Regions from separate parts of the Homo sapiens genome. Here all the other regions are linked to region 1. Evidence: promoter capture Hi-C in 16 types of primary human blood cells and fetal thymus (Javierre and others, 2016). All regions are on one chromosome and are shown on one strand. The core of a region is centred on a gene start or on the middle of the fragment in contact, and the rest is flanking DNA. Distances in the headings are between cores, read along the strand shown. Region 1 holds the start of ZNF606 (zinc finger protein 606). Region 2 holds the start of ZNF382 (zinc finger protein 382). Region 3 holds the start of ZNF461 (zinc finger protein 461). Region 4 has its middle 3.4 kb from the start of ZNF790. Region 5 holds the start of ZNF383 (zinc finger protein 383). Region 6 holds the start of ZNF793-AS1 (ZNF793 antisense RNA 1).

Region 1 (5,154 bases), core at 514-3,013:
GAAAAATCCCTTAAAACTAATGACACCTCTCAGGAGATGACTATAAAACATAAAAGTTAGTGTCTTTTATGCCAACAATTTTCCTCCTTTACCACCAATCAGTTCTAATTTTGTACCAAGATAGACAGACCCCCTTCCATCCTCAAAAGTCCTCAGCCCATCACCAGCTCTGACCCATGACTGCAGCAGCTAATGATAGGGGAGGCCCAGGAGAAACACAACTTGGACTCACCCCAGGAGGCCCACGGGTTGATGGCTGCCATCCCGAGGACTGATTGACCAGGCACCTGCCCAGGAACACAGCAAATCCCAACCTAGTGACAAAAGTGAAAAAAGACAAAACTAGTCCTTTCTCACAGAAGACCAAGTGGGAACAAAGAAGGGAATCCATCCACCGAAGCAACAAAAAAACTTGTAAGGAGCATCGTAAGAAAAGAGAATTTACATGTCAAAAAAGTAACACAATTCCTGGAGAGAAATGAAAGGTAATTTGCATAAGCTGGAAAAAAGAGCATGATCCTGAATGAGAGGGTACAAATTTGTCAGCTATTCCCAAGAGACAGCCAGTCACAACACAGATGGAACTTTTGGATTAATCTGACAATTATTGTAAAATCAACTTGCAATCCTCATATATTAGTGGTTGCCTAGAGCTGGGGGAAAAATGAAATGGGGAGTGACTGCTTAAGGGGAACAAGGGTTTCTTTGTGGGGTGATGAAATGTTCTAAAATTAGATAATGGGGATGATTGCACAACTTTATTAATATACAATAAAACCGGTGAATTGCACACTTTTAAGTGCTTAAAGTGAACATTATGTTATGCAAATTTAATCCCACCTCCAAAAAAAATTCACCTCCAAGATTTACTAAGCCTAAGCTTGTGTGTGTGTGGAGGACTTAGAGATGGGCCTGGCGCCCAGACCCCTAACTCCTCAGGTTCCAGATCTTTGTACAAGTCAGCAACCTCTCGAATGGATTCCTGGGTATGTGTATAAAGCACTAGAACACACAGTGGGCCTCAGGAGCACCGGAATCAGCGCGAAAACGCAGAATGCAAACCGTACTTTGCACCATTATTTGCAACTTGACAGTGACCGCCGCCGTCACTGCATGTTTAAGGGAACCCGGAGCTGTTTCCAACCCAGGTCTGACGTCCTTCACAGTGCTTTGTGTGAACTGGCAGGGGGAGAAACGACGGCTGGGGAACGAACGGGGTTATTCGTCCCATCAATGGCCTCAGAAGCATCCTTATCACCTGCTTCCAGAGCTCCCGACCCAAATTTCCTCCTCAAGACCGACGCGGCCGCGACGCTGCAAAAGCTCGTCCCGGCCTCACCTGGCTCGCGGCCGGCGGTCCCCCTTGAAGGCGGCGCAGCAGGATCGGGGTCTGCCCGCCTGGGGCGTTTGGCTTTTGTCCCGCGCCGAGGTCCGGCCCAGGAGTGCGCTTGGGAGCTCCCGGCGCGGCCTCGGGGACAAAGGCCCGCGGAGCCGACGTGCAGCAGAGTTCACCCAGGCCCGTCCGACCAGAAAACGAAGAACGCCCGGAGGCGGGAGGCCGGAGGCAGGCTGCTGGCTGGAGAACCGACGGCAACGACGGCGCAAAGCCGGCGCGGAAAGGGCAGGCGCAGGACCCACCCTGACGCCGCCTCTCCCAGCCGGCTCTCCTGACCCCCCAAGCCCCGCAGCTACGGCGGCCCCACAGCCTGAGCAAAGGCCTCACCTCAGCCGCGGACAATGGCGGCTGCTTCCCCGGCGTCGACCGGAGCGCGCCGCGGGGTCTGCTGGGAGCTGTAGTTCCAGGCGGGCACTTCCGGCGTCGGGCAGCGGCGCCGCCATGACAGGTTCCTGGGCCGCGCCGCCTCGCCCTGCCTGGGCGGGGTTGGGACCTTTCTGGCACCTGCGTCGAAGCCGGCGGCAGGATGGACTTTGTTGTCCCGGTCCCAGACCACCCTCCTCCACCGTCGCCTCCCACTGCAAAAAGGCCTGGGTAAGTCGCGGCCCCGCGGGCCTCGGTTTGCCCATCCGCAAAATGGCGCCTCGTGGTACCGGGTTTCCCGGGAGGAGCTCGGCGAGTTCTCAGCGCTCTCGAGGGATCCTTCCATTTGGCGTTCGCAAGATTGTGAGAAAGTGACTGCTGTTATTCTCTTTAAGATAAGGAACCTAATTCGAGCTACCCTTCTCTGTGAAGCTCGACGGCTGAGAACGTCAGGGCTCGTTCCCAAGTCTCTTTCCAGAGGCCAGGCTTTATGGGAGCATGGGTTACCAGCGACGCACCCTGTGAGTTTTCCTCTATCGATATGCATGGAGCGGTTCGGGAGCGGTGGCTCATTCCTGTAGTCCCAGCACTTCGGGAAGCTGTGGCGGGAGGATCAGTTGAGTTCAGGAGTTCGACACCACCCTGGGCAACATAGCGAGACCACATCTCTACAAAAAAAATACAAAAATTAGCCCGGTGTGATGGCGCGCGCCTGTAGTCCCCGCTACTTAGGAGGTTGCGGTGGAAGGATTGCTTGAGCCTGGGAGGTCAAGGTTGCAGTGAGCTATGATCGCACCACTGCACTTCAGCCTGGGCAACAGAGCAAGACCCGGCATTAAAACAAACAAAAACGGGCCGGGCGCGGTGGCTCACAGCTGTAATCCCAGCACTTTGGGAGGCCAAGGCAGGTGGATCGCCTGAGGTCAGGAGTTCCGAGACCAGTCTGGGCAACATGATAAAACCTCGTCTCTACTAAAAATACCAAAAATTAGCCGGGCTTGGTGGAGGGCACCTGTACCCAGCTACTTGGGAGGCTGAGGCAGGAGAATCGCTTGAACCCGGGAAGCGGAGGCTACAGTAAGCCGAGATCAAGCCATTGCACTCCAGCCTGGGCAGCAGGGCAAGACTCTGTCTCAAAAAAAGGGACTGAGGGACTGTAGGTGGTGATACCAAAGAAAGCATGGCCATTTAGGAAGCTAGACTTGAGTGAGCAGTGGGCAAGAGAGATTTTGAAGATATTTCCACTAGTAATGGAGGATCATTTTAAAAAGCTGGCCTGTGGGTTGGGCTTTTGTTGTTGGGTGGTGTTGGCACTCACTGTGGGTGGGCAAAGGGGAGTAGCCCTTTCAGAGGGAGAGGAAAAGTTCAAGTAGGACAGGCTGAATTCAAGGGAGAGGAAAATTTCAAGTAGGACAGGCTGAATTCGAGGGAGAGGACCATGAGAGAGGTAAGGTGGAAGGGGCAAGGTGTTGGGACAGGCCCCAGCTGGCAGGAAGGTGAACCCAGTCAGAGTGGGCACTGAGAGGAAAGCAATCTATGGATGGTACAGCCACAATTTCCATCTCAGGATCAAGCAGAGAAAGAGAGGCTGGAGAAGGAAGAGTGACAGAAGTAAGAAGAGAGTGTCTCTCCACTTCCACTCCAGCCCCCTACAGCTCATCCTCCAGCAGGCAGCCAAGGGCACTTTTAGGATCTCACATCAGGTCCTTGCCTCACATTCTGCACTGGCTTCCCAAGTAATTAAAGTAAAATCCAAATTCCAGCTCACAGCTTAGAAAACTCAGCAGGACTGGCCTCTGTCCTATCCCACACCCCACCTCAGTCCCTCAAGCTCATCTCCTGTCATTCCTGCCCATTTCTGGACCCCAGCCACTCCTCAAACAGGGTAAGTCCATTCCTGCTTCAGGGCCTTTGTACGTATTGTTTCCTCTTCCTGGAATCTTCTTCCTTGTACAGCCCCAGGGTTTTCTTTTTTTCATCCAGATCACAGCACAGATGTCACATCCTGGTAACAGCCAGCTGTGACTCATCTCCCTAATTCTCAATTGTATTACTCTCTTTTTATTTTCTTCGTATCGTAACTGATAGTCTCATACAGTACAGAAGCCAAGTTTTAAGATATGCAATCACCAAATACCTGCTACACAAACCTCAATGTTCATATAAAATAAGACTAGAATTCATATTCTAAAGAGAGATGAGGTAGCTCTGTTCACTTTTGAGAGGGAACTCAAATGAGAGAGATACCTTTGACCTAAAGGTGTCAGGAAACCAGATGAAGAAAAACACCCCTGCTATGATTTGAATGTTTTTATCCTCTCCAAAATTCATGTTGAAACTTACTCCCCAGTGCAGTAGTGTTGGGAGGCAGGGTCTAATGGGATTTATGGAGGTCATAAGGCTCTGCTGTCATGAATGGATTAATGTTGTAAACCAAAAAATAAAATTCTAAGCCCCCCACCCCCCAACCATATGAATAGACCCCTCCTCTCAGCCAAGGGCATTCCAAAGTTAATTTGAAAAATGAGTTCGGGCCATGATGGGAAGCAGAAGCTGGACTTGCCTCATTATACCCTCCTCCCTTCTAGAATTAGTGATAGAACAGACTCTTTAAGTCTGATAAGAAACATTTACAGTCTGTTATCTCCGGAGGTTTCATCTGCTTGGTAAAACCTTGAGTTCCACAACCCCAGACATTCCTTTCTATTGACAATAACTCTTTAAATCAATTGGCAATCAGAAATCTTTAAATCTGCCTATAACCTGGAAACTTTCTGTACCAGTATACATCTTATATGTATTGATTGATGTCTCATGTCTCCCTAAGATGTATAAAAGCAAGCTGAACCCTAACCACCCTGGGCATGTCCTCAGGATCTCCTGAGAGCTGCGTCAGGGGCCACTGGTCACCATATTTGGCTCAGAGTAAATCTCTTCAAATATTTTACAGAGTTTGACTCTTCGTCAACAATGCCATTGTAAAAGGTTCATGGAGAGATTCTGCATGTGCTTGCATTCTCTTTCTCTCTCTCTCTTTCTTTCTCTCCCCCCACCCCCACCCTCCACCACCCTGCCCTTTACCTTCTGTCAGGTGAGGATGCAGTGTCCAAGGCACCATCTTGAACTCATCATCGCCAAATATGTGAGCACCTTGATGTTGGACTTCCCAACCTCCAGACCGTAAGGCAGTACATTTCTTTGTAAATTACGCAGTCTCAGCTATTCTGTTACAGCAGCACAAATGGACTAAGACAACCCCCGAGATAGGAAGGGGTAAGGTAAATGCAATGAGAGTTGGGGTTTTCGATCTTAGTCCAGTAAAGGAGCTGGAACTGTTCTGTATAAACAAAGGGCAAGGTAATTGCTACATAGATTCTTTTCTTATTATTGCTGAT
Region 2 (5,154 bases), core at 690-3,189, about 21 Mb before region 1:
CTTCATAATGTCATCAGTAACTGGGAAGAGAAGGACTAGAGACCAGGTAAATAGATAAGTCACTATTTGGTGAGCATTTCAAATGAAGTTATTCCACATCCTGAAAAACAAAAATGCATTTCATAAAACAAAGAAAAAAATCAAAATGACCTCCAGCTTTGCTTTAAAATGTGCAACTACAATGCTTTTCTTCTCTCAGAGCTCTTCTCTTGGAATACAGCAAAATGTGGAAAGAAAGGGAATCACAATATACTCAGCCTTTCTTGGAGCCCAGACAGGCTAAATAAGAACACATTCTTCACCACCGGCAAGCTTCCATAACCCATGCTGAATATGACCAGATGGAAGTATGAGAAAGACTGGAATATTGTTGACTCTTCCCTTCATAAAGAAAAGTCAGGTTCACCAAAGCCTGGGACTGAAATGTTTCTGTATTCACAATAATTTCCTTTAGACAGCTATGAAAATGCTGTGGATCTGCAATATTCAACTTGCCCCCACAGAGCTTCCAAAAGGGATCTTTTGGCTAGGCACGGTGGCTCACGCCTGTAATCCCAGCACTTTGGGAAGCCGAGGCGGGTGGATCACCTGAGGTCAGGAGTTCGAGACCAGTCTGACCAACATGGTGAAACCCCGTCTCTACTAAAAATACAAAAATGAGCCGGGCATGGTGGTGCATGCCTGTAATCCCAGCTACTCGGGAGGCTGAGGCAGGAGAATTGCTTGAACCCGGAAGGCGGAGGTTGCAATGAGCCGAGATTGCGCCACTGCACTCCAGCCTGGGCAACAAGAGCAAAACTCCATCTCACACACACACACAAAATCTTTGGAGAAACGAATCCTACTCCTGGGGCCTCAATATCATATCTTCCCAGAACCTTGCCTTGGGAGCAATTCCAGCTCTAACATCTCCATATCAAACACGAGGCTGTGCATATCAGAACACAGCCTTGTCCATGTGAAACACAAGGCTGTGCTTTTTCAGTTGGAAACTTCATTCTGGATCTCAAATATCCAACTTTCTTTTCGATAGCCATTTGACTGCACACTGTGCAACGTGGTTATAAGGTGAAATGACTGAGGCAGTGAAAGAAATCCCAGTATAACAAACTCCAAGAAACCACGTAACTTAAAATTGGCCCCAGAGGTTGGCGAGGCTGCATGCCACTGTGTATTATGCATTATGAAAGCGACAGGGGCCATGCTTTAGAACAGAAGGTCTCAGAGTCTTCACAGACACAGATCGAGCCATACGGGGACCTTGTCCACGTATTCCTGAGCCCCAGAACTGCAGAAATCAAACTCTACAAAAGCTGCACCAGGCCAGTTTTGATCACAGTCTCCAGTGGGTCACAACAGCGCTGTCACAGGATCACTGATAACAGCATGACACATTCATAGTCACCGCTCAGCGCCGTCACACAAACGGCCCCGCCCCCACTCAGTCCCGCGGGCCCAATCGGGGACAGTCAGGGCTGTCCCGGGCTGTGCACCTGCTGTGCACACACACCCCCTGCTGTGCACACCCCCCGCCCCCCCGGGACCATCACAGGCGCGCCCACTCACACCACCACACACGGACGCAGCCACAGAACGGCACACACAAACACAATCACACAGTCTCCCTCCCCAGCAGGTGACTTGCACACAGGCCTGGGGCTTCTGCCTCCACAAACCCTCTCCGCGTCCCATGAACCCAGGTCCCCTGCCGTGAGCTCTTCTCGCATCCAGACCCGGGTCACCTCAACTCACCACATGGAAAACGAACACCAGGTCAACGGAAAAGGGAGCCGGGGTCCTGGCAGAAGCGTAGTGCCAGCCGCAATAGGGCGGCCGTGGGTGCAAACGGAGGGGAGCGCCGGCAGCTAGCACCGCGCGGCGACTAACGGGCCGCCCCGGAGACTCCTGGGAGCTCAGGCCCACGCGCGAGTGCGCAGGCGCAGACGACTCACCCTGGGCCGGGGGTGAGGCTTGGTGGGTGCCAGGGGTGCTGAGGAGGCCAAGGAGGGCACTGGGAGCTCCGTTCCGGGAGAGCTGTCTAAGGACGCGGAACCGGGTGGGGAGGCCAGGGAGGTAACCAAGAGTCCGAGCCGGGCCTGGAAATTCTGAGGAGGAAACCGGGACCGCGGTATCCAGACGCTCCGATCTGTACGAGCCGGGCCTCGGGCGTGGTCCATGGGCGTGACCTTGAGGGTGACCCGGAGCGAGCTCCGCGAAGGGGGATTTTGCCCGTTCTGATCCCGCGGAAGCGCCATCGCTGGCGGCGGGTCCCCGCGCGGAGCGGGCGCTGTGTGTTCGCGCGCGCGGGCGCGCGCTGAATAGGGGTGGCCTCCTGCGCCCAACCTGCTGCATTTTAGGTGCTTGCCTCTCTTTGGGATGTTGTGGCCGATTGTGTGTGAAAAGTGAACGGAGTAGTGTTGCTGCGCGAGGTTTCCTCTGCGTGTGTCTATTTTTAGATTAGGTGTGAGTCGCATTTGAGACTGCCTTTGAGTGTGGAGAATTGCAAGTGATTTGTAGGTGTGGTTGTGACTGCCTGGAGTCGTGTTAGCTGCTGTCTGAGGTTGTGAATGACAAGTGGGGCCTGTAGGTTGGTGGTTCTCTGAAGGATGTTTGATTGACTGTGACTCTGCATGTGTTTGTAACCTACTGTTACTTCTGGTGGTTTTGTGGCCTTAGTGACCTAAATATTTGAATGATTGAGGAACTCTGTTATGACCATGGCTAGTTGGTTATGTAAGACTTGATTATCTGAATAGTAGCCATTAAGCCTGCCTCCAAAACTGTAACTAAGTAGCAATTTAGCAAATAAAATAGAGATAACAGTATCAGAGGGGAAGAGATGATTTTCATAATTCCCAGATTCATTTCCTGGAAACACCATATTAACTAAAACCAGTATGTTGAAATGAATAGCATTCCATTGGGGACATGCAGGAAATTTTTTTTTTTTTTTTTTTTTTACCATAACTACCACTTTTGTTGTTGTTTTTTGTTTGTTTTAAGACAAGGTCTTGCTCTTTTGCCCAGGCTGGAGTGTAGTGGCATGATCTCTGCTCACTGCCACCTCTACCTCTGAAGTTCAAGTGATTCTCCTGCCCCAGCTTCCTGAGTAGCTGGGACTACAGGCTTGTGCCACCACGCTCGGCTAGTTTTTGTATTTTTAGTAGAGATGGGGTTTCACCATGTTGCCCAGGCTGGTCTTGAACTCCTGACCTCAAGTGATCCCCTCCCCCCGCCCCCTCGGCCTGCCAAAGTACTGGGATTACAGGTGTGAGCCACTGTGCCTGGCATAACTACCACTTTCAACACTTGTATATGAGTGAGGTTTCCTACTCCCTTAGGCTTGCTAAGATAATAAAAAGTATTTGATAGATTTTTAATAAGTCCAGTCTCACTGTAGTAATTAAAATAGTTATTTTGCGGGCCTGGTGCAGTGACTGATGCCTGTAATCCCAGCATTTTGGGAGGCCAAGGTGGGCAGATCACCTGAGATCGAGAATTCGAGACCAGCCTGACCAACATGGAGAAACCCCATCTCTACTAAAAATACAAAATTAGCCGGGCATGGTGGTGCATGCCTGTAATCCCAGCTACTCAGGAGGCTGAGGCAGGAGAATCGCTTGAACCCGGGAGGTGGAGGTTGCGGTCAGTCAAGATTGTACCATTGCACTCCAGCCTGGGCAACAAGAGTGAAACTCTGTCTCAAAAAAAAAAAAAAAAAAGATTATTCTCAACTACAACATAGACCAGATAGGCAAAGATTTAAAAGTTGTCAACTGTCTTCATCAGGGCTTGGGAAGGTATTCTCATCCACTACTATCAGTGTAAATTGGCAAAAAGTCCAAGAAGAACCGTTTGGAAATACACAGTAAACCTGTGGTTAGAGGTAGATGGAAGGCAGAGCTGCAGAGGGAAAAACACAGTGTTCCCTCTCTTCAAGCTAAAACAGGTTCCCCAGAATCCTGTATACTTTACCAAGAGACTGGGTTTCTGGTGTTTGTGAGGGAGCCTGATTTGTCTGTTTTCCCACTAACTACCATCCTGGACATCTGAAGGGTACACAGGGTGGACAAGTGCTGAAATAGTGAACATTCATGCAGATTTAACTGAGTTAATTCTGGGAGTTCTGAGTCAAGTATGGTCTCACATACGTATATCCTCCATCTTTGCTTTCTCAGGACTGTTTCTTTTTCCAAAAGAGGAGCTCAAAAGAGAAAGTTCATCTAGAAATCTCAAAGCCATGTCTCAGGTGAGATGATGTTTCCTCTCTTTCTGAAATAACTTTTTTTCATGGTGTATGAACATGAGCTTCACTGTCCTTTAACCTTCCCTGATATTGGGATTTGCTTCCATGAAATTAGTCTTCAGTCAGGGCCAGATTAGGCTGAGGCAGGCAAGTGGCATGAGGTGAAATATTTAAGGGGTACCCTCAGGGCTGTGCCCTCCTAAATTTTGCATTCTAGGTGCCTCACCTGCCTCACCCTGTATCCAGCCCTGTTCACAATTTCTCCATTCCAACCAAATCAACTTAAGCCTTCCCCAAGTGTACCTTCTGGTTGTACATATTCATTGGGTATATCATTCATCATCTCCTTTCTCAGTCTTCTCACAAACAAACTGCTGGAATAGAAAGGTATTGTCTTGATTTAAATGGGAATATATGGCTTGAATGAATTTAACTTGTCCTGATGCTGATTTGAGACCTAAGCTGTGAGTAGTCATGGAGCAGACGTGGAAAAACCTTGATGATCTCCGCTAGCCTAGGTTTTGCAATGGTACGTTGGGAAATAGAAGTGGTAGATCCCAGCATTAGTTTCTGGAAAGATGTCCTGCTTTGTGAGGTGTTTAGGATAGCAATTTGATTGCAGGCTTGTAAAGGAAACACGTTTTATGTTCCTCCTCTCTGATCTTTTTTCATTCATGTCTGCTAGCCATTCCTACAAATTGTGGGCTGCCAGTGAAAACCTTTCCAGTATTCCAATGCTGTTAGAGATTTGTTATTTTCTTTTTAGTTTCTTCTAATTTTTTATTTGCGGGTGCAGGAGAAGGAAATCCATATGCCAGGCCACTTTTGAAATATTCTATTGTTGATCAAACAGTACTTTGTCCTCTTTTCATATCTTTCAGAAAATTCCTCTTTAGCTCATCCACCAA
Region 3 (5,154 bases), core at 1,494-3,993, about 21 Mb before region 1:
TCAAAACAATATTATTTGTGTTCTCTCCTTGTGTCTGTTAAAAGATTTCACGTAAGGGAGATGAAGAATCATTTATTCAACAAGTATATGAACATGAGTTGGAGATGAGAGGAGCAAAAATGAAGGCCCTGAAATTCTGGCACCGTCACTTACTCACTAGTAAGTTATTGTATAATTCCCAGGTAAGAAACTATGTCAGAATAAATAATGCAGGCCAGGCGCAGGGGCTCATGCCTGTAATCCCAGCACTTCGGGAAGCTCAGATGGGCAGATCACTTGAGGCCAGGAGTTTGAGACCAGCCTGGCCAACTTGGCAAAACCCCGTATCTACTTAGAGTACAAAAATTAGCTGGGTGTGGTGGCACGTGCCTGTTGTCCCAGCTACTTGGGAGGCTGAAGTGGGAGAATCGCCTGAACCTGGGAGGTGGAGGCTGCAGTGAGCCAAGTTCGCACCACTGCACTCTAACCTTCCCACCTGGGAGACAGCGAGGCTATGTCTCAAAAAAAAAAAAAGCAAATAGTCACATGCCCTATACAAAAAAAACAAAAACAAACAAACAAAAAATCAAGTATTGTAATTAGGAGCAAGAAAAAACCAACTTACATGGGCCATGTCTTATTTTAGAATTGAATGTATTATTTAATCCTCTTCTTCGTTCCCTCTGGAAGAAACTCAATCCAAAGAAGGTGTTGCTGGGAGAGAGGGGAGTTAAAAAAAAGACAGGAGATTATTGCCTCTAAGCTCCCAAAATGTTAATTCAGAATGACATTTTTCTTCCCCCTTCATATCTCCTATTCCCAGACCTGATACATACATACATAAATTATTAGTGGGAATTTGGACAAATCCTAGCTTTACTCAAAACCATGAGGAAACTCAGCTACAGCAGGATAGACTCAAGAAAAGCAAGGATCATGCCCTTCAGCAGAAGGGATAGTTAGGCCAGCCCATTGTCCCAATACTATGATGAAATCGAAGCCAGGATCAGGGTGCTGAGAACTGCACTGGGTAGATTTTCACTGAATTAAGAGGAAAAAGAAAAGGTAATGAACATTATGAGAAAAGATTAGGGAAACAGAAAACAGACCCAAAAGACCCAGTGTATGTGTAACAGAAATTTCAAAAATAGAGGCTGAAACAACACAGATGGAAGAGAAAAAATAAATAGAACAAAAATTTGCAGACCAAAATAAATTCTTGAGTCTTTAGTTTGAAGTACAGTGCTGTAAGAATTAAAGAAGAATCATACCTGGAAACATCCTGAAAAATATTCTTAAGTTTGTCTTTGAATACAGACAAAAGGACATAAATATCTTTTAGTAAGAAGTTGCAGAGGCCGGGCGCGGTGGCTCACGCCTGTAATCCCAACACTTTGGGAGGCAGATGCGGGCGGATCACGAGGTCAGGGGCTCAAGACCAGCCTGGCCAACATGGTGAAATCCCGTCTCTACTAAAAATACAAAAATTAGCTGGGTGTGGTGGCGGATGCCTGTAATCCCAGCTACTCGTGAGGCTGAGGCAGGAGAACTGCTTAAAACCCGAAGGCGGAGGTTGCAGTGAGCCGAGATCGCGCCACCGCACTCCAGCCACGGTGAAAGAGAGAAACTTCGTCTCAAAAAAAAAAAAAAAAAAAGGAAGTTGCAGAACAATGTGTATTGTGGCCAAATCTCAGAAAAAAAAAATCAAACACATAGGTACATAAGCATACTACATATGTGGTGTTTTTCTGAGGCTGTAATGATAAATGCGGGGTAGCAATGTGATTTTCGCTTGTGTTGTGTGTGTAAATCTACAGCTAACTCCTCAAGTAGTCAGGAAAGGATGAGAGATGGATGAATGACAGATCTCTGGAGTGGGGCGTCCTGAGCCTTAGATGTGTGCACAGGAGCGGGGTGAGGTGAATGTGCGTGTGTCTGTGTGTGAGAGACCAGAGTTGACTGAGAGGAGTGGAAGCTCTCTGCCTGATCGTGTGAGCCTGAGGATAACGTGAATGTTTTTTTGTTTTTTTTTTTTTGAGACAGTTTCGTTTCACTCTTGTTGCCCAGGTTGGAGTGCAATGGCGCGATCTCGGCTCACAGCAACCTCCGCCTCCCGGGTTCAAGCGATTCTCCTGCCTCAGCCTCCCAAGGAGCTGGAATTACAGACATGCACCACCATACCCGGCTAATTTTGTATTTTTAGTAGAGGTGGGGTTTCTCCACGTTGGCCAGGCTGGTATCGAACTCCCGACATCAGGGCATCCACCCGCTTCGGGCTCCCAAAATGCTGGGATTACAGGGGTGAGCCACCGCTCCCGGCCTGTAAATGTGCTTTTTCTTTCACGTAAATAAATGAGATTTACACAAATAGCCATTCACAATCATGGTCACAGTCACCTACAAACCCCATTTACACAAATGATCAGGCACACAATCACACTGTCACTAAAGCACACCCACGCACCAGGTCGCTGTCCCAACAGTAACACACAGCCCAAAGAGAAACCCTACTTCCTCACGCATTCAAAACACACCCACCTAAGGGCTGATCCCGCACTCAGAGGCCTAAAACTATAGACATTCCCTTCCGCGGCACTGGTGAGCCAGGATTTCTTACCTTCAGCATTCTCAGGGAAGGCTCTGGTCCAAGCTCTGATTCGGATTCCAAGCGAAGCCACACGCCCAGCTCTTCCTTCTCCACCGGCCCGGGACATCCTTACCTGCCTCTACCCGGAGACCATTCCTGCGAGGCTCCTACCGGAAGTAGCTGTGGACAGCAGTGTCCTCTGGGAAATGCAGTCCGAGGGGAGAGCGCCTGGGGTGGAGCGGGTGTGTTCCGCCGGGCTCCGGGATGCACTTGCGCAGTTTCACCCGAGGCTGGAGTGACGCCAACCTGTTAATGTTCGTTTTCGGATTCTGGACTTCGGGTTCCGCTGAGGACGGATTTCGGAATAGGCACAGTGGCTGCCCCGAACCCCTCAAGGCGGCCTCCGCGGGCTGTGGCTGAAGATAATTTTCGGCGGGCGCGGACTAACCCGGCTTCCCTTTGTGGAGTTGTGGTGAGAAAGGTGTTTTGTTGTGCGCGTGTCCGAAGGTGACTCCGGAGGAGAAGGTGGATATGAACTGACGGTGAGGGTGTAGCGCGTGAGATTTGTATGTGAAACGATTTAAAAAAAAATTTTTTTTTTGGCCGGGCGCGGTGGCTCACGCCAAGGCGGGCGGATCACCGAGACCAGCCTGACCAACATGGAGAAACCCCGTCTCTACTAAAAATACAAAATTAGCCGGGCGTGATGGCGCATGCCTGTAATCCCAGCTACTCGGGAGGCTGAGGCAGGAGAATCGCTTGAACCCGGGAGGCAGAGGTTGCGGTGAGCCGAGGTCGCGCCATTGCACTCCAGCCTGGGCGACAGAGCAACTCCTTCTCAAACAAACAAACAAAACTGTATGTCATATATTTGACTCCATTTATTTATTTATTTAGAGACAGAGTCTTCTTGCCCTGTTGCCCGGGCAAGAAAAAACAAACAACAACAACAACAAAAAACTGTACGTCATATATTTCACTCAACTTTTTTTTTTTCTTTTTTTTTTTTTGAGACGGAGTCTCGCTGTCGCCCAGGCTGGAGTGCAGTGGCGCAATCTCGGCTCACTGCAAGCTCCGCCTCCCGGGTTCACGCCATTCTCCTGCCTCAGCCTCCCGAGTAGCTGGGACTACAGGCGCCCGCCACCTCGCCCGGCTAATTTTTTGTATTTTTAGTAGAGACGGGGTTTCATCGTGTTAGCCAGGATGGTCTCGATCTCCTGACCTCGTGATTCGCCCGCCTCGGCCTCCCAAAGTGCTGGATTACAGGCGTGAGCCACCGCGCCCGGCCTCTTTTTGAGACAGGGTCTTCATGCCCTGTTGCCCAGGCTGACTGCGGTGGCGCGATCCTAGCTCACTGCAGTCTCCACCTCCTCAGCTCCTCCCGCATCCACCTCCCAAAGTGCTGGGATAGCAGGCGTGAGCCACCGGGTCAGGCCAAAACGATTTATTTTATTTTTATTTTTTTGGTAAAGACAGGGTCTCGCTATGTTGCCCAGGCTGGTGGTCTCGAACTCCTGGGCTCAAGCGATCCTCCCGTCTCAGTGGCCAAAGTATTGGATGACAGGTGTGAGCCACCGCGCTGGGTGGTGAAACGGTTTTGAGGCTTTTTGAGAATGGCTGTTCTATATGCCCGCGTGGGGCTCATGCGGCGAGCGCCGCCACTCCCGCAGTGGCCCCTGTGGGGGTGATACGTGATGTGGCTTAAATGTGAGAGGCCACCTGGACCCGTGTGATTGCCACGTTTGCAGGAGCGCAGCCACGTGCACAGGGATCTTGTGACATTCTGTGTGAGGCTTTTTGCGCTGGGTCCACCCATGATTAGAGGACTAGTGTGACTGTGGCGGCCCCTGAGAAGGGAAGAAGCTGGTTGCGACCAGGAAGGTCTGAGATGGATGAATGACAGATCTCTGGACCAGGGCGTCCTGAACCTTAGATGTATGCATAGGAGCGGTGTGAGGTGACTGTGTATGTTTGTGTGTGAGAGTCCAGAGCCGACTTAGAGGAGTGGAAGCTGGCACATGTTATCTGCCAGAAGGGACAGATCCATGGTAAGGATTTTTAACCTTGCTGAGAGACCAGTAACTCCATCACCAAGTGTAATATGAGGAAATGGTGCTTGTTTGAGAACAAGTGATTCTGCTTGTGTCTGATTCTCATTCATGTATGTGAGATGGTTTGCACTTGAAACTGTCAGTGAGAGAGAAAGTAGAGTGAAATATATGACGTACAGCTGGCCCTCCCTATCCATGGGTCTTGCATTGTGGATTCAACAAACCTTCAGTTGAAAATATCTGGGAAAAGAAGTTGATGTTTGCATCTGTACTGAACTTGTACAGGCTTTTTTTCTTGTCATTATGCCCTAAAAAATAGAATATAACAACTATGTACATAGTATTTACATGGTTATTAGGTGTTATAAGTAATCTAGAGAGGGTTTAAAGAATATGGGAGGATTTCCATAGATTATATGCAAATACCGTGTTCATTTTATATAAGGGACTTGAGCATCTGTGTATGTTGGTGGGGAGGGGTCCTGGAGGGACACTGAGGGATGACTATGTGAAAGTGGTTTGCGAATATGCTCAAGT
Region 4 (5,154 bases), core at 1,210-3,709, about 21 Mb before region 1:
GGAGTAATTTTTTTCAGTACTTTCAAACTTATCAGGTAACTAAAATAGTTGTTTCTTTTTTTATTGTGAAACAGAAAATACTTGAAGTGCATAAAATGTGTAAGTTCAGTATAACTCCACACAAGTGTTGGTATCTCAAGAACAAATGCCCATTCTATGTGATCATTTCTCTTTTTGTTTGTTTGTTTGTTGTTTTTTTTGAGACAGGGTCTGGCTTTGTCACCCAGGCTGGAGTACAGTGGCACGATCTAGGCTCTCTGCAACCTCTGCCTCCCTGGCTCAAGTGATCCTCCCACCTCAGCCTCCAGAATAGCTGGGACTACAGGTGTGTGCCATCACACTCAGCTAATTTTTATAGAGACAGGGTCTCGCCATGTTGGCCAGGCTGGTCTCGAACTCCTGGGCTCAAGTGATCCTCCCAAGTAGGCCTCACAAAGTACTGGCATTACAGGCATGAGTCACTGCACATAACCTGTGTGATCATTTCTGATACCCAGCTCCAGCTCCAGCTGATCTTTAGGGTATTAATAATATCTTGGCTCTTTAATAGTTTTAATCTCTCAGCTGGACGCGGTGGCTCACGCCTGTAATCCCAGCACTTTGGGAGGCTGAGGAGGGTGGATCACCTGAGGTCAGGAGTTCGAGACCAGCTTGGCTAACATGGTAAAACCCTGTCTCTACTAATAATACAAAAATTAGCTAGGTGTGGTGGTGCATGCCTGTAATCCCAGCTACTCTGGAGGCTGAGGCAGGAGAATCGCTTGAACCCAGGAGGCAGAGGTTGCAGTGAACCAAGATCACACCACTGCACTCCAGTCTGGGCGACAAGAGCGAAACTCCATCTCAAAAAAAGAAAAAAAAGTTTTAATCTTGCTGTGAAATGTATATAAATGCAATCAAATTGTACAAATTTTCTGTCTTGATTAGTTGTTAAACTCCTAACTGGATTAACCGAAAACCCCATAGTAAAGGCCTTACAGAAGGAAAGGTATGCCCATCCAGCCATCAACATCATTTTCCTGGTACTACTGGCAGGGGACCCCAAGACCAACCACTACACGCCCAAGCTCTGATGATTCACTGGGAGGCTCACAGTGAAGTGATACAAAAGAAAATCAGTAAAGAAAAAAGCGCATGGGGCAAAGTCCAGGGGAAACCAGGTGCACACTGCGAAGGGTTCTTTCCCAGTAAATTTATATGGGATTTATTTGTTCCCCAGCAGTGAGTTGTGACAATACATGTGAGATGTTACCAATCAGGGCAGTTTATTATAGATTCAGTGCCCTATGTTTTTATTGGGGGCTGGTCACATAGGCAGTCTGTGCCTAACACATACCAGAATTTCAAATTCCCAGAAGGAAAGCGGGTGTTTAACATAAACCATACTGTTTGTACAAAAAGTTTAGGCATAGTAAGCCACTTATTAGGAAGGTGGGAACCAATCTGAAATTCAAGTTCTAGATGCAAGCCAAAGACTAACCTCGCATATCAGGCCTTTCTAAGGATAAGTAGTCTCAGACCTGCTATGTTAACTAATTTCTGCTCACTACTGTCCTAAAGATGTATGGTTTTCAGCAACATCAAATTACAAGACACATGAAAAGGCAAGAAAAATCATGACACTCAAGACATAAAAGCAAAAAGCAACAACAAACAAATAGAGGTAGACTCAGGTAGGATCTCCCCAGGAGCTTGAGGCTGCAGTGAACTGTGATTGCACCACTGCACTCTAGCCTGGGCAACAAAGCAAGACCCTACCTCAAAAATTAAAAGAAAAGAAAAAGATATGATGTAGATGTTGGAACTATCTAAAAAGGAATTTAAAATATTATTAATATTTTCAAAGCTTTACCATAATGTTTTTCAACCAGAGGTGATTTTGTTCTCCAGGAGATATACAGCACAGTATGAAGTTCTTGGTAGTCACAACTGGAGAGGTACAATTTGCATTTAGAGGACAGAGGTCAGGGAAGCTGCTAAATACACTACAAGCACAGGATAGCTTGCCACAACAAAGAATTATCCAGTCCCAAATAATGGTCCAAGGTTGAGATGCCCTAAGTAATCAAGACAGTGTGTTTTTGGTGAAGGACAGAAAGATAGATTAATGGAAGGAACAGGCTGGGCACGGTGGGTCATGCCTGTAATCCCAGCACTGTGGGAGGCCAAGGCAGGTGGATCGCATGAGGTCAGGAGTTTGAGACCAGCCTGGCCAATGTGGTGAAACCCCATCTCTACTAAAAATACAAAAATTAGCTGGGTATGGTGGCTCGTGCCTGTAATCCCAGCTACTCAGGAGGCTGAGACATGAGAACCTCTTCAACCTGGGGAATGGAGGTTGCAGTGAGCTGAGATGACACCACTGCACTCCAGCCTGGGCAACAGAGCAAGACTCCATCTCAAAAAATATATATATATATTTTTAGGCCAAGGCAGGCGGATCACCTAAGATCAGGAGTTCAAGACCAGCCTGTCCAACATGGCGAAATCCCATCTCTACTAAAAAATACAAAAATTAGCTGGATGTGGTAAGGCAGGGAGAATTGCTTGAACCCAGGAAGTGGAAGTTGCAGTGAGCCGAGATCACACCACTGCACTGCAGCCTGGAGGACATAGCAAGACTCCATCTCGGGGTGGGGGGTGGGGGGAGGGGAGAAGTTATTATTATTTTTTTTTGTAGAGACAAGGTTTCACTATGTTGCCCTGGCTGGTCTCAAACTCCTGGCCTGAAGCGCCCCTCCCGCCTCTGCCTCCCAAAGTGCTTGGATTACAGGCATGAACCACCACTCCTAGCCTATAAAACTTTTTTAGGAACACATAAAAGAAAGTGTACATGACCTGCAGTTAGATGAAGGGTTCTTAGACATGACAACAAAAGCACAATCCATAAAAGAACAACTTGATATACTGGACTTCATAGAAAATGTAAACGTCTGCTATTGAAGTAACACCGTTAAGGAGAAAGACATGGGATAGATTGGGAGAAAATATTTGTAAATCATATATCAGGCAGAGGACTTGTATCCAGAATATATAGAGAACCTTCAAAACTCAACAAGTAAACAAATAACCTCAAGCTTAAAATGTGCAAAGGGCATAAACGGAAATAAAAAGATAGATACCAGGAAAAAATATTATAAAATGTGCCTATATGAGATTTATAAATCACTAATTTCCACCATATATAAAGTGCTCATACATTTCAATAAAAGTGAATAATATTTCTAGAATTTAAAAAATTAGTATTATAGTGAGACAGACAAAGGAAACATAGTTCATGGAAATAATAAGTTTTAAATATTTAAAAAGGTATTCACCTTCATATCCAATGAAACAAAGTTAATAATATAGTCAGAATGAAACTATAAAAGTCACTTTAGGGATACAATGGAGTGGCTTGCAGCAAACCAGTATTCCTGCAGAAAACTAAAAAATCAGATATAATACAAAAAAAAAAAACACAAAGCTTTTTAACTTTTTTTTCCTGTATGAAAAAGACATGAGGGGCTGGGCGCGGTGGCTCATGCCTGTAATCCCAGCACTTTGGGAGGCTGAGGCAGGTGAATCACAAGGTCAGGAGTTCGAGAGCAGCCTGGCCAACATGGTGACACCCTGTCTCTACTAAAAATACAAAAAATTAGCTGGGCGTAGTGGCGGATGCCTGTAATCCCAGCTACTCAGGAGGCTGAGGCAGGAGAATCGCTTGAACCCAGGAGGTGGAGGTTGCAGTGAGCCAAGATCGCACCACCACACTCCAGCCCTGGCAACAGTGAGACTCCATCTCAAAAAAAAAAAAAAAAAAAAGACATGAAGGAGTGTTTGGGACAACCAGGAATAGCGTAGTCAAGACTATAGATTGTAGGTAATCACAGACATTGTGCAGCCACATTTTTCCTGGATTATTTGCCAATTCTTGGCAAAGGGCAGAAGGATCCAGACTGCTAGGACTTTAGTTTTCTGGGCCTAAAAACACAACATTGGAGACTTTATGGGCCAAGATCCCTGTGAGAAAAGAGGGACACAGACTTGAACTCTACATAAGGCTGGTTTTCTTCTCAAGACAGTTACCCATTTCTGAAACTGGTTGGGTCAGGAGGCTCAGGAACTTAGGCGGAAAGCTTCCAAAAAGCAGCAGAGTTTTTGGTAGTCTTGCTGGATTAAGAAGACAAAGATTTTGAGTTCAGGCCCTGTCAGGGGAAGGTGCCTTGGTGAACACACCAGATCCTCCTGAAACCCTGATGGGCTACGTCCTAGGAGCAGGCAAACCAGAAGCACAATGAACCTCCACAACCGTAATGGAGCCCTGACTCAACTCAATCACTGATTAAATGAAGGTCATCAGCCCCTACTTGATCTGCCCAGTAAAGGAAAGGATGAATTCTCTAAAGGAAGATATTATCTGCAGCCTCTACTATTTTTATACACCAGTCCAGAATTTAATTTTAAAAAGTATTAAGCATGCCGAGACAGGACTGTATGACAGAAAACTCTGAAAAAACAAACAGGTCGGCCAGGCACAGTGGCTCACACCTGTAATCCCAGCACTTTGGGAGGCCAAGGTGGGTGGATCACCTGAGGTTGGGAGTTCGAGACCAGCCTGACAAATATGGAGAAACCCCGTCTCTACTAAAAATACAAAATTAGCCGGGCATGGTGGCACATGTCTGTAATCCCAGCTGCTCGGGAGGCTGAGGCAGGAGAGTTGCTTGAACCCAGAGGTGGAGGGTGCAGTGAGCCGAGATTGCACCATTGCACTCCAGCCTTGGCAACAAGAGCGAAACTCCATCTCAAAAAAAAAAAAAAATTAAAAAAAAAAAAAAGGCCGGGCAGGGTGACTGATTCCTGTAATCCCAGCACTTTGGGAATGCCTGGGTGGATTGCTTGAGCCCAGGAGTTTGAGATCAGCCTGGGCAATATGGCAAAACCTCACCTCTATAAAAAAATTAGATGGGTGTGGTGATACATACCTGTGGTCCCAGCTACTTGTGAAGCTGAGGTGGGAGGATCGTTTGAGCCCAGGAGATTGAGGCTGCAGTGAGCTGAAAACACACCACTGTGCTCCAGCCTGAGCAATAAAGCAAGACCCTGTCTCAAAAACAAAACAAAACAAAAAACAAAAAAAAAAAAACCCAAAAAGCCCCCAAACTCCAAACA
Region 5 (5,154 bases), core at 2,655-5,154, about 21 Mb before region 1:
CTTTATCATGTACCTCATATAACTTCATGTAACTTCAATTCTACTTTCTGTCTCTATGAATACACCTATTCTAGGCACCTCATATAAGTGGATTCATACAATATTTGTCCTTTTGGTCTGGCTTATCTCACTCCGCATAGTGTTGAAAAAGAAAATAAATGGCTTTTATCTGAGGAATGCAAGCCTTCTTTATGTGATCAAGCCCAGAGAGGGGTTGGGATGACACAGCTGTTGTGGTGGCTCATGCCTGTAATCCCAGCACTTTGGGAGGCCTCGGTGGGAGGATTACTTGAGGCCCGGAGTTTGAAACTAGACTGGGCAACATAACTAAACCCTCTCTCTATAAATTTTTTTTTCAATTAGCCAGGTGTGGTGGTGTACACCAATAGTCCCAGCTACTCAGAAGGCCTAGGCGGAAGGATGCTTAAGTCCAGGAGTATGAGGCTGCAGTGAGCTGTGATCATACCTCTGCATTCCAGCCTGGGAGACAGAGCAAGACCTTGTCTCTAAAAAAAAAAAAAAAAAAAAAAAATGCTGGGTGCAGTGGCTCACACCTGTAATCCCAGTACTTCGGGAGGCCAAGGCAGGCAGATCACTTGAGGTCAGGAGTTCAAGACCAGCCTAGCCAACATGATGAAACCCTGTCTCTACTTAAAAAAAAAAAAAAAAAAAAAAAAAAAAAGGAAAGAAAAATTAGCCGGGCATGGTGGTGGGTGCCTGTAATCTCAGCTACTAGGGAGGCTGAGGCAGGAGAATCACTTGAACCCAGGAGGCAGACGTTGCAGTGAGCCGAGATCCCACCACTGCACTCCAGCTTGGGCAACAGAGGGAGACCCCATCTCAAAATAAATAAATAAAAATTAAAAAAATAAATTAAAAATTAAAAAAAAGAAATGAGTTTTTTCTGCTCTAAAATCAAAAGTTTGCAAGCTGCATTCCTTTCTGGAGGCTCTGGAGAATTTGTTTTTTTTCATTTTCCAAGTTGGAGAAGCTGCCTGCATTCCTCAGCTCATGGGCTCCTTTCATCTTTACACCCAATAATGGCTGGTCGTGTGTTTCTCACAGCACACAATTCCAACACTGACTTTATGCCTTCTTCCTCATTTCAGACCCCATGTGATTACATTGGGTCTAACTGGACAATCCAGTATAATTCCCCTATGTTAAGGTCAGCCGATTAGCAACTTTAATTCTACCTGTTAATTTAATTCCACTTGCCATGTAACATAGCATATTCACAAGTCCCAGGAACTAGCATGTGGGTATTTTGGGGGGAACATTATCCTGCCTACTTTAGATGTTGAGGTCATTCAAGAGGAAAATGATAGTTTTGTTAACATGTGATGTTAGAACAACTGAATTTCCATCTGGAAAATAATAACTTTGAACATTACCTCACATACACAAAAACTAACTTCAAGTGGATGATAGACCAAAAATAAAAACTAAAACTATACAACCTTTAGAATAAAACATAGGAGAAATTCTTCACAACACTAGAGGAGTCAAAGATTGTTAGAAAGACCAGAAAGCATGAAGCACATTTTAAAGATGAGAAATTGGATTTCATCAGAAGTAAAAACTGCTTTTTGAAAGACATCATGAAGAAACTGAGGGCTGGGCACAGTGACTCACACCTGTAATAACACAGTGAGACCCCATCTCCACAAAACACAAGAAAATTAGTTGGGGGTGGTGGTGCACACCTGCAGTCCCAGCTACTCAGGAGGATCGACTAAACCCAGGAGGTCAAGGCTGTGGTGAGCTATGTTAACACCACTGCACTCCAGACTAGGCAACAGAGCAAGACCCTGTCTCAAAAAAAAAAAAAAAAAAAAACTGAGAAGGTAAGCCCCAGGCAGGGAGAGAATATTTGCAATTTGCAATATGTATATTTGGCAAAGGACTTTTACCCAAACATATAAAGAATTGTTACAACTCAATAATAACCAATTTTAAAATAAGAAAATTTTATTTATTTATTTATTTATTATTATTTTTTGAGATGCAGTTTTGCTCTTGTTGCCCTAGCTGGAGTGCAACAGTGTGATCTCAGCTCACAGCAACCTCTGCCTCCCGGGTTCAAGTGATTCTCCTGCAGGGATTACAGGCATGCACCGCCACGCCTGGCCAATTTCGTATTTTTAGTAGAGACGGTGTTTCTCCACGTTGGTCAGGGTGGTCTCGAACTCCCAACCTCAGGTGATCTGCCCGCCTCAGCCTCCCAAAGTGCTAGGATTACAGGCGTGAGCCACTGCGCCCAGCCGAATATTTTCAATAGATGTCACAAAAGAAGATAAAAGAATGGCAAATAAGTATATGAAAGTATGCTAAGTTCATTGACATCAGGAAATGCAAATTAAAAACATAATTTGATACTACTGCTCATTCCTTAGAATAGTCAATAGATGCCTGATGTGGGGTTTGGGAGGTGGGGATTGACTTAACAATGTGGGGGGCAGAGGGCGGTGAATAAAAATATTCTATATCCGCCGGGCGCGGTGGCTCACGCTTGTAATCTCAGCACTTTGGGAGGCCGAGGCGAGCGGATCACGAAGTCAGAAGTTCGAGGTCGGGAGTTCGAGACCAGCCTGTGAGCTCGAACCCTGTCTCTACTAAAAATACAAAAATTAGCCAGGCATGGTGGCGGGCACCTGTAATACCAGCTACTCGGAAGGCTGAGGCAGGAGAATCGCTTGAACCCGGGAGGCGGAACTTGCAGTGAGCCGAGATCTCGCCACTGCAGTCCAGCCTGGGTGACAGCTAGACTCCAACTCAAAAAAAAAAAAAAAAAAATTCTATATCCAGTAACACTAAGGATAAATGCTTGAGGGGATAGACACCCTATTTTACATGATATGATTCTTACGCATTGCATGCCTGTATCAAAACATCTCATGTACCCCATATACAACTACTATGTACCCACAAAAATTTAACTAAAATGCTTAAAAATTTTTTAATTTTAAAAAATATTCTATATCCTGATTACGATGGTGGTGACAAGGGTTTAGACATGCGTTGAAGCTTACCGAACAGTTCACTTAAAATGAGTGCATTTTATTGTATCTAAATTATTCTTCAGTAAAGTTGATTTTTAAAAAACATGCACACAAATATAATTTACAAACTATAACATTAGCTCGTTTATGGTGTACCATTCAGTCACTTTTAGTGTATTCAGAGTTGTGCAAACATCATTATCTAATTCAAGAAGCTTTGCATTACCCCAAAAATGAACCCTTTAGCTATTACCAATCACTCACAGTTCCCCCTAATCCTGCTAGTCCTAAAAAACTCTAACTTACTCCTTTTCCGTAGATTTGACTATTTTAAATATTTCCTATAAATGCAGTCATACAGTATGTGGCTTATCCACGGATGAAGGCAAAAATGACGATTTAGTCAGTCTAGCATTCTCAGAGAGCGTTATAACGCCTAGTACAGTCCGGGGTCCTGGGTGCGTTCTGCACTGAGTCGGCTTGGGGCAGGAAGTCATTTAAGCGACCTCCTTCCACTTGCCCCAGCGCCTCACCCCTTCCTGCTCTAGACTACAGTTCCCAAAAATCCTTGCGGCTCTAGTCAACATCTGGCCCGAAGCTGGCGACCTTTTCCTGTTTCTCAGGGAACTCCCTGGGGTTGGCCGGTACCATGGAGGAAGATTGTCTTCAGCGTGCAGGGCCAGCGTCCTACGGCAGTTTCACTCTGAGCCTGTGTCTGGATCACGGAGACGCGGGGTAGCGGTTCGGAGTGCGGAGCAGGGATGTCCCCGAGCTGTGCAGCTGCAAGAACCCGAAAAAACAGGCGCCATCTTCTCGGCGCGGTCCTACTCCGGACTGTATTTCCCAGAGGCCCCCGCGAGTCCAGGGCAGCCCCTTCATTTGCCTGCTGGACCCTCCGCCTCAAGGGTAGGGGAAGTGCGCGGTGAGCGGCCTGGGTCTTGCAGGCTCGGCTGGGGCCCGCAGGTACGTGCATGGGAGTTTGAAGGGACTGACCAGGCTGGTCTGGAGTGTTGGGCATGTATGAGTGTGTCGGGCATGTATGAGTTGGTCGGGCTGATAGAGGGGGTGGTGGGGAGGCGGGCGCGAGGCGTGGGCTTCCGTGTGTGAGTGTGACCTTATGTGACTGTGCCTCTCTGTGTGCGCGGGTGTGATTGTATATCCTCGTTGTAGTTGTGTAATTGTAACAATGTAAGGCTGTATGTGTAGGTATGACTGTGTCCCGTGTTGGGACTGTGATTGTGTGTGGCTGTGTAACTTTGCGTGACATTTGTGGAGGGTGTTTGTGTGGAGAGAATCTGATGAGGCTGTGACTGTGTGTTAGTCTGAGGGGTGTGTGTAATTGTGTTTGTATGACTGTTAGCAGCACTTAAGTGTACTGGATGCCTTACTGAGTAAATCTACTACCCAGAAATAACCCAGTAACGTGAGAATGTGAGAGTGTGACCATGTAACTTTATGTAGCACTGTGTCTGCGGTTGGAAAGTGCGTGTAATCGTGCCGGGGTGATATGTGTGTCCTAGTGGTCATTGTGTTATTTTGAATGTGTGATTGTGTGTAGTGCTCAATAGGGGTCCTGGGGAGGGGGGAACTGTAACTTTGTGTGGCTCAGTAGTGCGTGTGGTATTGTGACTATCTGTAGCACTCTGGTTCTGAATGGTGCTATGTTTGAGGGGTCTGTAAATATGCTAGTGTAACTTATCCTCAAGGTAGATGTGGGACAATGATTGTGTGACCATATATAGTGTTATTGTTTGGGTGAGGCGTGCCTGTGGAGGTCTATGTGGGTCCCCATGGTGGCTGGGTGACTGCAGCATTGGGTAGGGGGTGCTTGTGACTGTCTTTGTGACTCCAGCTCTCCCTGTGAGGTCAGGACAGATTCTCGAGAGGAGAGACCTCACCCCTCTGATACCAAGAATGCTCATGACAGCCTACACTTCTCTGTTTTTGTTTTGTTTTGTTTTAAGGCGGAGTTTCGCTGTTGTTGCCCAGGCTGGAGTGCAATGGCGCAATCTCGGCTCACCGCAACCTCCGCCTCCCCGGTTCAAGCAATTCTCCTGCCTCAGCCTTCCTAGTAGCTGGGATTACAGGCGTGTGTCACCACGCCCTGCTAATTTTGTATTTTCAGTAGAGACGGGGTTTCTCCGTGTTGGTC
Region 6 (5,154 bases), core at 788-3,287, about 20 Mb before region 1:
TTATAACTCAATAGATCTGTTTTGCCTGTTCTTGAGTTTCTCATGACTGGAGTCCTACAGTGTGTACTCTTCTTTTACCTGTTTCCTCTTTCCATGTGTACTCCTTCCCCAATCAAGAGGTCAGCTCCTTGAGTAGCCTCTATTTTTACTCGAGTACTCAGTCTTCTTTTTCCCAATTCAGTTGCTGAGATATATTTAGGTTCTAATAAATTTTGGGTAAAATTTAATAATGATGCTAATGATCCTTTACTTCTGAATAACACAGAAACACCCAGCTCTGAATCCTTGTTGCTTTATTTACTCACTGAATGATTACGGACAGGTCACCTCACCCCCGTGTTGCAGTTTCTTTTGAAGCGTGATGATAACACTATCTTTACAATGTTTGTGGCAGTCTTTAATGTTATTCCAAAATATCGCCAGCTCTTCCCATCCCAGAATTATGGTAGGATTACATGTCTGCTATCACACTCCTGGGTGGCCATGTGACGTCTCAAAGACTAGTGAATGGAAATGACATGTATAGTTTTTGAGGCAGAACGTTTAATTCCCAGCAAAAGACCCTCAAAGGCTGTCTTTCCCTCGGCCTTCATGAGTGACAATTTACCAGTTGTGGCTGCTTTATTGGTCTAATCCTAGAATAAGAACAGCCCTTGAAGTGAGCAGGCCAGTGATCAATCAGGCATTTAATAGGCACTTTATAAATACTCATTTTACTTCAATATTATTATTTTTGTTTTTTTAGAGACAGAGTCTCACCCAGGCTGGAGTGCAATGGCACAATCTTGGCCCACTGAAACCTCCACCTCCTGGGTTCAGTGATTCTCCTACCTCAGCCTCCCGAGCAGCTGGAATTATAGGCGTCCACCATGCCGGCTAATTTTTGTATTTTTAGTAGAGACGGGGTTCCAACATGTTGGCCGGGTTGGTCTTGAACTCCTGACCTCAGGTGATCTGCCCACCTTGGCTTCTCAAAGTGCTGGAATTACATGTGTGAGCTACCATGCCCAGCCTAAATGGTGATTTTAAATTAATTACTATAATCACTTCAAAGTGTTGTCATATAAACCACTTATATTAAATCAAATGAAGCAAGGACCCTTGACCTCTTTGTTAAATTTTAAAAATCTAGCAGAGCCATAGGCCTTTAATTTTTCCATCGCAAGGAAGAAGAGGAAACTGGTAATAATCTCCTCTGACAGAATAATCTCGCAACTTTAGGAACTTTATTTAAAGAATTCAGAAATGGGGTTGGGCGCGGTGGCTCACACCTGTAGTCCCAGCACTTTGGGAGGTCGAGGCAGGCGGATCACCTGAGGTCGGGAGTTCGAGACCAGCCTGACCAACATGGAGAAACCCCGTCTCTACTAAAAATACAAAATTAGCCTGGCGTGGTGGTGCATGCCTGTAATCCCAGCTACTCAGGAGGCTGAGGCAGGAGAATCGCTTGAACCCGGGAGGCAGAGGTTGCGGTGAGCTGAAATTGCACCAATGCACTCCAGCCTAGGCAACAAGAGCGAAACTCCGTCTCAAAAAAAAAAAAAAAGAAGAAATGTCAATTGTAGCATTTTAACACAGCATTGAAGTTATCTACTGATGCATAGCAAATTACCCTAAACTCAGAAGCTTAAAACAACAAACATGTAGTATCTTACACACTTTCTGAGGGTGAGGAATATAGGAGCTGCTATAGCTGAGTGCTTGTGACTGTGTCTCTCACGCAGTTGCAGTCAAACTATTGGCAGGGGCTGCTGTCATCTCAAGGTTTGACTGGGGCTGGGAGATGTGCTTCCAAGGGTGATACACTTGGTTATAGGAAGGCCCCAGCTACTCCCAGGCTATTGGGTGGAGGGCTTAGTTCCTTGCTACCTGGGCCTCTCCATAGGCTGTCTCGGTATCCTCATGACATGGCAACTAACTTCTCTCAAAGTGGGGGCAGCAGCCTTTAAGACAGAACTCAAGGTGCCATTTATTATATTTAATCTCAGCAGTGACATCTATCACTGCTACTGCATTCTATTAGTCTCACAGTCCAACCCTGGTACAATGTGGGAGGGAACTACATAAGAGTGTGAATAGTAGGAGGTAGGAATCATTGGGAAACATTTTGAGGTCAGTTATTGTATCAGTTGCTAGGATGACCAGTTGGAATTAGGATTTTTTTAAAAAGCCATTTTCATAAGACAAGGCAATCTTTTCTAGAGATGTTCCAATACCTGTGATATGCGGAGCACTGCGCTAGGTGGTATTCAAGGCAGGCCTGTAGTGAATGCTGTTGGACCCAGCCACCACCCCTGAGCAATCATATGCAGACCGCTGGCTTCTTAACTGCAGACACCTACAGACTCAGCCTAAGACTTTCCCACGAGGCAGGCTCGAAGTGCTGGAGCTTTAACACCTCTGGAGTGGCCCTAAAACAATTAGGAAGAGAGATGGTGTAGACATATGTAAGCTTCATCGGCCTGGTGGTTGTGAAAACTTGGAAGTGGTTTCTACACAATCCCCCAGAGGTCCCAAGCTGACTGAGCCCTCATTGATCCAGAGCTAATCTGCTCACCTATGCACTGTATATTCGTTCCCATCGCTCCCGTCTCACTTCTCCATCCCCCACCTACCAAATAAACTGCTTGCACTCATTCTTTCCTCAGGTCGGCTTCTCGGGCAAGCCTCCTTAGGTAAAAACCTTGCTTTCAACATTTCCTTTCCATTATGCGCTAAGAACTCTGATCTCTTCCCGCTGCGGCAGCCCCGCCCTTTCCTTGCGGCTCCGCCCTTTCCGTGAAGTCACGCCCGTCCTTAGGCTGTCTCTGTCTCCCTAAGAGCGAGTCTCTTCGCTGCTCTCTAACTCCTAGAGCTGGCTCAGAAAGAGTTTCACATTGCCATAGGGGAGCTCCTAGGAGAGGCTGCACCCATTGCACGTAAGAAGCGGTAAAAATGTACGCGGCCATCTTACCAGGCTGCCGGAGACAAAGAAAGCTCAGCTTTGATGTCTGGGCGCCACCATGTTGGCCACAGGAGGTTTTGGCATCTGAGATGCTGAGTTAAGAGCAGAGACGACATCTCTGTTTAGGGATCCAGGGACACTTCCTTCTCCTTGTCCTAAAATAGCCTTATCTTTTGGTCTAGCAAAGGGCTTAATCATCCGTTTTACGGCACAGTTTTAAACATGGCCGCCCCAGGTAGGAGTCAAGTGGGCGTCGCCATCATACCTCCAATTACAGCTTTGAGAAACCCAGAATCCTGTTCACTGGAAGGTTGCCGGGTGGCGGCTGACAGCCTCAAAGTCGCAATTGAGTCTGCGCACCGGCCATTCAGGATGGGACGACCTTATACCGCGGTGAGGCGGCGTGGCAGGACGACCAATTTCAGATTCAGGGCGCGGATGCAGCATAAATGGGAAGGCACGGTTTGAGAAACGGTCAAACCTGGGACTAGTGGAGGATAGTGAGCTGCCGACTACGGTGGCCGACTGGGTCAGCTATGGGTGCCCGTGAGGGTCAATGACAAGGGAACTGAAGGGTTAAGAGATTCGGCGTCTGAGCCTCGCGGGGCCTCAGTGGTGGCGGACAGAGGTTTGCGGGAGTCAGTGGCACGGTCTCTGAAGAAGATGGATTGGGAGTGTGTGGGAATCAATAAATGCGAGTTCTGTGAAATGTCTTGATTTTCAGGGTGCATGGGGTCAGTAATAGTGGTCTTCATGGGTCTGGGGTCAGTTGGGATTTTTCAGACACTGGTTTAGAGATCTTTAAGGTTAATGATCGGAGCCCGAGAGGATCAGTGATCGGAGGTTCTAAGTTCTGTGGGCAGTAATAGTTTGGGTACTGGAATTGGTGATTGTGGAAACTTTGGGGTTCAAATGAGGGAGGTCAGTGGTGATGAATGTTTGGAGAAATGTTTTGGGCCATCGGTGATTGAGACTTACTTCATATCATCGGTGGAGGATCGGAGAGTATTAACGATTGGACTTTTGTAGATCAGGGAATGGAGAATAGAGTCAAGTGTGCTTATCTTAAAGGTACGCCTCAATGAGGCTCAGTGATTCGGACTGTCACTTGTGGGTGGGAGTGGGACTGTGAGAATCAACAATTGATCCTCAGTCGTTGGGATATCATTGGCAATCAGTGTGGATTCATGATTGGGGGCTGTGTAATTTCACTGGCAATCAGATCGGATCGGTGTTCTTTGTAGTTACTGACCTGTAGTCTCTCCTGGTCAGATTTGAACATAGGGGAATATCAGTGACTATGAAAACCTCTGAGGGTTGGAGATTGGAGGCCAGTGATTGGGGGCACTATGCGTGTCTGATTAGGAGACTTATAGGGGTTGGTGTTGAGGGTCCTGAAATGTGGAGATTGGGGATGGGAAAATCACAGATTTGAGGCTGCAAGCCTGCATAGCGGGAACACATTTCACTCAGGTGACACTCCCTAGCTGAATAGCAGCCAGTTCCTCTCCACCAAGGCCCATCTGAAAACTCTTTTTTGAACCCACACCCTTTTTATTGTTCTCTACAATAATGAAAATAATTTGAAAGGATCGCGTGCTAAACTTATCTAAAGTAACATGTTACTAAAGACGTGGCTTCTATTCTTGTTAGGGATCTAATGCATATTTTTTCCTAATGTTTCCTTTAAGGCTCTTTCTGGCAAAGGTAATGACATACGCATCTGTGCCAGCATCCCAAGAGTGAGGCTGGTTTCTGGAAATCCATTCTGACTCTGTGACAGCGGGGATGGATGTGACCTTGCCCGTGGTTAGAAAACAAATTTACTGAGTAAGTATCTAAAATGATAATGTAGGCTGTGTGCAGTGGTTCATGCCTGTAATCCCAGCACTTTGGGAGGCTGAGGTGGGTGGATCATTTGAAGTCAGGAATTACTAGCCTGGTCAACATGGTGAAACCCTGCCTCTACTAAAAACACAAAAATTAGCCGGGCGTGGTGGCGGGCGCCTGAGGTCCCAGCTACTCTGGAGGCTGAGGCAGGAGAATCGTTTGAACCCAAGAGGTGGAGATTGCAGTGAAACGAGATTGTACCACTGCACTCCAGCCCGGGTGACAGAATGAGACTCTGTCTCAAGATAAATAAATAAATATAAATAAACAAAATAAAATAAAATGATAATGTAAAAGATTTGGCTGAAAGAGCAAACAGA

The links. Contacts are between HindIII fragments. The CHiCAGO score rates a contact against its expected background, and 5 or more counts as called.
Region 2: a contact is called between the fragment with the promoter of ZNF382 here and the fragment with the promoter of ZNF606 in region 1, in 2 of 17 cell types (non-activated CD4 T cells and naive CD8 T cells). The highest score is 8.0, in non-activated CD4 T cells.
Region 3: a contact is called between the fragment with the promoter of ZNF461 here and the fragment with the promoter of ZNF606 in region 1, in 1 of 17 cell types (non-activated CD4 T cells). The highest score is 5.2, in non-activated CD4 T cells.
Region 4: a contact is called between a fragment that was not itself captured here and the fragment with the promoter of ZNF606 in region 1, in 1 of 17 cell types (total CD4 T cells). The highest score is 6.4, in total CD4 T cells.
Region 5: a contact is called between the fragment with the promoter of ZNF383 here and the fragment with the promoter of ZNF606 in region 1, in 6 of 17 cell types (total CD4 T cells, non-activated CD4 T cells, activated CD4 T cells and 3 more). The highest score is 18.6, in total CD4 T cells.
Region 6: a contact is called between a fragment that was not itself captured here and the fragment with the promoter of ZNF606 in region 1, in 2 of 17 cell types (naive CD8 T cells and activated CD4 T cells). The highest score is 6.3, in naive CD8 T cells.

The regions. Positions count from the first base shown.
Region 1 is chr19:58,001,057-58,006,210 of GRCh38, forward strand. ZNF606 (zinc finger protein 606) reads right to left here and starts at 1,764. Exons shown (of 7, transcript NM_001348022.3): 1 at 1,340-1,764; 2 at 233-314. The coding sequence starts at 263. It overlaps ZNF606-AS1 (ZNF606 antisense RNA 1), which reads left to right and starts at 1,838. Exons shown (of 4, transcript NR_036508.1): 1 at 1,838-1,990; 2 at 2,155-2,280; 3 at 3,327-3,644; 4 at 4,851-5,154. RefSeq lists an enhancer at 1,696-2,115. The HindIII fragment of the contact is 14,498 bases long and covers 879-5,154 here.
Region 2 is chr19:36,603,374-36,608,527 of GRCh38, forward strand. ZNF382 (zinc finger protein 382) reads left to right here and starts at 1,940. Exons shown (of 5, transcript NM_032825.5): 1 at 1,940-1,974; 2 at 4,179-4,249. It also overlaps a transcript of ZNF529 not described here. RefSeq lists enhancers at 1,212-1,351, 2,332-2,391 and a silencer at 1,912-1,971. The HindIII fragment of the contact is 5,073 bases long and covers 311-5,154 here.
Region 3 is chr19:36,664,094-36,669,247 of GRCh38, forward strand. It overlaps ZNF461 (zinc finger protein 461), which reads right to left and starts at 2,744. Exons shown (of 6, transcript NM_153257.5): 1 at 2,597-2,744; 2 at 605-693. The coding sequence starts at 613. It also overlaps a transcript of ZNF567 not described here. RefSeq lists an enhancer at 2,921-3,050. The HindIII fragment of the contact is 6,595 bases long and covers 1-5,154 here.
Region 4 is chr19:36,839,219-36,844,372 of GRCh38, forward strand. It overlaps a transcript of ZNF790 not described here. Among named protein-coding and RNA genes, the nearest start is that of ZNF790, 3.4 kb to the left of the region's middle. The HindIII fragment of the contact is 1,231 bases long and covers 1,845-3,075 here.
Region 5 is chr19:37,214,310-37,219,463 of GRCh38, forward strand. It overlaps ZNF383 (zinc finger protein 383), which reads left to right and starts at 3,905. Exons shown (of 6, transcript NM_001387601.1): 1 at 3,905-3,965. RefSeq lists an enhancer at 3,531-4,020. The HindIII fragment of the contact is 5,435 bases long and covers 3,216-5,154 here.
Region 6 is chr19:37,503,630-37,508,783 of GRCh38, forward strand. It overlaps ZNF793-AS1 (ZNF793 antisense RNA 1), which reads right to left and starts at 3,458. Exons shown (of 3, transcript NR_110723.1): 1 at 3,210-3,458; 2 at 2,217-2,411. It overlaps ZNF793 (zinc finger protein 793), which reads left to right and starts at 3,310. Exons shown (of 8, transcript NM_001013659.3): 1 at 3,310-3,337; 2 at 4,636-4,774. RefSeq lists enhancers at 2,228-3,019, 3,020-3,811, 3,377-3,526. The HindIII fragment of the contact is 826 bases long and covers 1,625-2,450 here.